Regions from separate parts of the Homo sapiens genome. Here region 2 is linked to region 1. The links are contacts of gene promoters, found by promoter capture Hi-C in human tissues and cell types (Jung and others, 2019). All regions are on one chromosome and are shown on one strand. The core of a region is centred on a gene start or on the middle of the fragment in contact, and the rest is flanking DNA. Distances in the headings are between cores, read along the strand shown.

Region 1 (2,700 bases), core at 120-2,619:
GCCCGAAGAACATGCCCGGCTCAGTCACGTGGCAGATGCAGACGCCGCAGTCGCAGCGGCCCCGGCCGTGGCACAGCGCGGCCCCCGGGGGCTGCCCAGGTGCGCGGCAGCGTCGCTCCGACTCGGCCCGGGACAGCCTGCAGGCGGCGCCCGGCCAGCTCCTGCGCGGGCGACAAGCAACCGGCAGGCCGGGTCAGACGCGGACGCCGCCCCCTGCTCCGAACCCACGTTTCCTCCCCAGTGTCCCCTCCAGGTGCAGACGTACAACCCCAAGAACAGGACGCCTGAGGCCCACATCTCTCTGGGGTCCAAGCGCTGCCTGGAAGGGCTGTATTTTCCCAAGCAAACAGGTATCACCCACCAGAGAAATGACCAGGGCCCAAAATGTGTAATGGGTGACCTGCCCCCGGACACAGGTCCTTCCTCCAGGTGGACAGAGGTGAACTGCCCTGCTCTTTGGTAGTTTATCACTAAATCTTATATGCACATTTAGATTAAATACAAAGTAATCCAAGGTACGGCACTCAGCTGACTTTTCAGTTCTCCTTTAAAAAACGTCCCACTGCTATCTGATGGCCAATGGGCACTTATATTACAGAAGAGAAAACGTGAATCTATAGAAAGAGTTAGACATGCTATGATAGCATCGGGCATAATTTGCATTAAGCAGTCTTTAGGAACTCTACTTTTAAAAAGTTTAGTTTCACTATTGCAGTGTGCCTCACTCAGTCTCTTTCAGGATGATACAAAATGTAACACAGACCTCCTGTTGCTGCCCTTGGGAAACAGATCATTCTGCTTTACATGTTGTGAGAAGATACTGGTACACATAGCATTTTAACTCACAGCAGGAATTCCTCCTGATATGTATTTGCAGAAAAGAAAATTATATTTTTATTCAATGATTGCATTTTTCCAAAGGAAAAGCAAAAGGACAGACATGAGGCAATACACGCTGTAGATATAAGGAGAGGAAAAGGAACAGGTTGAAAACAGTTTATCCCTTGTCCAATTTAATAACAGCTCTTGGCTTAGGGCAGCCATCCTGCAAGCTTGAGCCCTGCCACATAAGCAGGGCAGGTCTGTACTGAAGAATAACAAACCAAACTTACCTCAGAGATGGCGAGAAGCTTTGAGGAACAGCTGACAACCCAGCAAAGAGAAGGGAGGACGCCAGCAGCAAGAAGTTCCTGAAGCCTGGGGGACGCATGCTGAGCTCCTGGGCTGCTCCGGGCGAGCTGCACTTCTGCAAGGTGGGGTTCACCGAGGGAGGCGGCAGGAGGGAGAGGTGCCACCAGCAGATGGCTGGGCAGACGGACCCACGGACACCCAGGCTTGCAGGTCCGGGGCTCCAGCCGGAGTTGCAATTGCGTTGATGAGCTGCCTGCGAGGATTTGGGCAGCGGCACTGCTCTGGGCGGGGTGCTGGTGCCAAACCCCTCAGTGGAGAGTCTAGGCAGGGAAGTAATTAGAAACAGTTGTACAAGCAGATGGTTTATTTTGACATTAAAAAAAAAAAAAGTGTCCTGTTCACAGATTTCAAGTACGGGCCACAGAAATATTTGACAAGAGAATATTTGGACTGGCCGATATTAAAGAAACCTTTAAAATAATCCCTGAGTTGTGGAGAAGGGTGAGGCCAGTGACAGTAGTGGGAACACTTGGGTAGGGAATTACTTTCACCACACGCTTTTAAAGTAGATGCACTCTTTGGAGTTTGGGTTGGGGCCGGGGCAAGGAAATCTGACAAACACAACTTTTTCTTGCATTTATTATCCTTTGATTTAAACTGGATATTTCATTTCTTTAGTCTTTAAAAAGCGTGTCATGCTTCCAGCTGTTTAGGCCAGTAGCTTATCACACCACAATTTGTTGGTGACTTGGACAGTTTAAATTGTAGTTGTCTCAAATTCACCCCATTCTCCCCATATATCAAATGTGAGAAAAGAAAATTAAATGTTTATTTATAGCACAAATTGCACTGAAAAACAATTGGTGTCATTTACTAAGCACCTACTATGTGCCAGTCATTTAGTATGTTTTCTCTAATTATGACAATAATCACACATTTATTTATGCATTAGCAAATGGGGATTTAGCATCTATCAGGTGCCAGGTTTTGTGCAAGACAGAATGAATATAACAGAGAACTAAGGAGACATGATCCCTGCTCTCTCAGAGTCCAATGAGCTAGAAAGACATTAATCAACACAAAACCACAAAAAAAAAGAACAAAGGGTTGCAAGTGCAGTGAGAAGTTACTTCCAGATGAGATACAGGCACTTGATCTAATCAAAGATGGTAGCATCTGAACAAAAAACTGAAAAAAGTATTGAATTAAATTGGGTAGAAATAAGAAGGAGATGGAAGAGAACAGGGAGACATTCTTACTCCCATTTTAAAGATAAAGAAACTGAGGGCAAAGAGGTCAACTGACTTGCTCAAATTCACAGAGGAAGTTAGTCGTATTTCAGCTGAAATCCAAAGTGCATACACTATCCCCTACATTTATGGTCATCTGGGAAAATGTGTAGAGGGTTATATGGAAGGGGGAAAACATTTTTCATTCACCCTAAGAAGAGCACTGTACATGCAATCCTTCCTCATGAAATAGAACCATCCAAGAATCATCTGTGGTCCCAGATCCTTAAAATCAGGGATGAGCCATAATAGGATGGGATTTCTCCCTGTCCTTTATATA
Region 2 (2,700 bases), core at 88-2,587, 1.9 Mb after region 1:
TTTATTTAAAAAAAAAAATTGTCCTAGTTGGCAAAAATTTAAATACAATTTCTGAAGTCGCTGAGGTAGCTCAAAGAAGAGAATCTTTTTATGGAGGAAGGAAGGTCTTTCCTACACACTCGCTTTCCCTAGAGGAGAGAGATCCTGCTTCCCAAATCCTCCCCAGATGAGAAGGATCTACACAGTGCTTCCTGCCCCATCCCTTCTTTTCCCACCCTCCTCCCTCCGTGGAAGCCAAGAATATCCTGGAACCCTAACCAGACTGTGCCTGCCCACGATGCCTGGGTAAAAGAGACCCTAAATGGTCCCAGTTCTGGGCTGTTTAGACTCAGATGCTGATGGTCTTAAGGACCTGTTCATCTCCAGCCCAGTGCCTCCCTGACAAAGGCTTGGTCTAGGAAGAGCTGAAGGGAGAAACCAAGAGTCAGTCTTTGGGTGCAACTAAACCTGCCCCAAGTCACTTAGATTTTGAGAACCTAAAGGATGCTCAGAAATAATCTGGCTTACCTACCCACTTAGAAAAACTGTGGTGTTTTTTGTTTTTTTTTTTGAGATGGAGTCTTGCACTGTCACCCAGGCTGGAGTGCAGTGGCGCAATCTCAGTTCACTACAACCTCCGCCTCCCAGGTTCAAGCTACTGCCTCAGCCCCACAAGTAGCTGGGATTACAGGCACCTGCCACCATGCCCAGTTTTTGTATTTTTAGTAGAAAGACGGGGTTTCACTATATTGGCCAGTCTGGTCTCAAACTCCTGACCTTGTCATCCACCCGCCTTGGCCTCCCAAAGTGCTAGGATTACAGGCATGAGCCACCATGCCCGGCCAGAAAAACTGGTTTTTAAGCAATTACTGTATTTAGAAAGTATTTTCTACTTGAAAATTTTCAGTTAACACTTACATAGAGTCACAAAGGTCATAATTAAAATCTGTGTCCCGGATCCTAGAAAGACTGATAGCAGCATCCCTTTTCTTGGAGGACGGAATATATCACCATGAACAAGTTTCCAGCCAAATTCTTCCTGGGCATCTTCCTAAAAGGGGAATGAAATCAGTTCGATTGTCTCATGGTATCAACAAGACAACTATAGACAGTTTGTTCACTGTTGAATATGCTGTTACAGAAAACAGGTTTTTTTTAAACTTAAAAATGTTAGTACCTATTTCAATTTTGAAGAATACAGCTTGACTCATGGAGCTTAATATGGCTTTGCTGAACTGTCTTATATGTCAGTTTCTTAAATTTATGACATTAAGGTCTACAAATATACTTATTGAGAAACTTTACAAAGACAATGTGATTGCTACCTAATTCTACTCTAAGTCAAGCTTTGTGATCTGACTTGATGACGATTTTTAGTCACATTCTATCCTCTTCATCCTACTCTTAATGATCTCCACAATAAGCAAATGGCATTAGCTCTCATATTCTAGCTACTTTGCTAATACAGTAAGCATGGATGTAAACATTCATTGAGCACCAACTATAAGCTCGGCTCTGTTTAAAACACCAGATACCACAGTGAGTGTAACAGAAAAATTCCTACTCTCAGGAGTACATGATCTCATTGGGAAGGCAGACAATAAACAAAATAAGTCAGGAAAGTATACTGTACATTAGATGGTAATAAGCGCTGTACAGAAAAACAGGATGTATGGGTGTGTGCAGGACAGGATGTAACATATGTGATGGCTGGGAGGGGTTCAATGGGAAGATCACATTTTGTAAAGATCGGAGGGAGGTAAGGGAACTAGCCATGTAAATGAGGGGCAGACCTTCTTAGCAGATAAAACAGTGAGCTTCGTGAAGGCTCTGAGGTGGAAACCTATGTCTGCCTGGTCTGAGGAACAGCAAGGTAGCCGGCACAGGTGCAGCAGAGTGCTGAGGTAACGTGGGGCCTTAGAAGCCACTGTAAAGCCTCTGACTCTTGCTCTGACTGAACAGAAGTCCCTGGAGGGCCGTGCTCAAGAGTGAAATGATCTGACTTCTGTTTGAGCAGTTTCACTCTGACTGCTGTGCTAAGAGATGGGAAGTAGGACAGGGTTGTGGAAGCAGAGTCACCACTGGCCTGGTTCCACATGGCAACGCTGTGCAAATTAAGATAAAACTCCATTAACAGCAATTATGTGGAACAGCCAATTATAAACAGAGTATTTTAAAATCATTTTAATATTTAATAAGACATAAAATCAATAAAAATCATAGGAAAGAGACTATAGAGTACAAACGTTAAAAGCTTATGAATATTCATATATATTTTCCCCAATCAGAACAGGTCAGAGAGGTTGGGGGACAGGAGGCTGAAGAAGCTGGGGGAAGAGAATACAATAAAAACCTGAGTTTTTTGCATTCATTCCAAATTACTGTGATTCTTGTGAAAATTCTTTTATTATGCTGCCATGAAATGAAGAGTAGAAAATGTGTAACACTGTGCAACTTAAAAAGTTTGAGACTAAAGAGGCTGGAACATGCAATTATTTTAAATATATCAAAAGGTTGAAATGATACAAATTTGTTAAGATTAATTTTAAAAAATTAACCACACAAATAAAAATTGCTTAGGAGTTATTCCATTCAACTTTGTGGTTTCACAAACAGGTATGTGTCAGGGATGGAGAAACCTTACAGAGTTGTAACTGTGCACCTACACCCCACGCTGCACCAGTCCATTCCCACACAGGAGGCTGTGAACAGGTCAGCTCC

What was found. The method cuts DNA at HindIII sites, captures the fragments that hold promoters and counts their contacts. A contact is called where the count stands out against the background at its distance.
Region 2: a fragment that was not itself captured here is called in contact with the fragment with the promoter of ITGBL1 in region 1 in 1 of the 25 tissues and cell types used here (dorsolateral prefrontal cortex).

Annotation. Positions count from the first base shown.
Region 1 is chr13:101,451,344-101,454,043 of GRCh38, reverse strand. ITGBL1 (integrin subunit beta like 1) reads right to left here and starts at 1,369. Exons shown (of 11, transcript NM_004791.3): 1 at 1,113-1,369; 2 at 1-161. The coding sequence starts at 1,210. RefSeq lists an enhancer at 1,287-1,791. The HindIII fragment of the contact is 7,410 bases long and covers 1-2,700 here.
Region 2 is chr13:99,542,193-99,544,892 of GRCh38, reverse strand. It overlaps TM9SF2 (transmembrane 9 superfamily member 2), which reads right to left. Exons shown (of 17, transcript NM_004800.3): 10 at 898-1,030. Among named protein-coding and RNA genes, the nearest start is that of LINC01039, 34 kb to the left of the region's middle. RefSeq lists an enhancer at 1,583-1,642 and a silencer at 1,993-2,062. The HindIII fragment of the contact is 3,817 bases long and covers 1-2,700 here.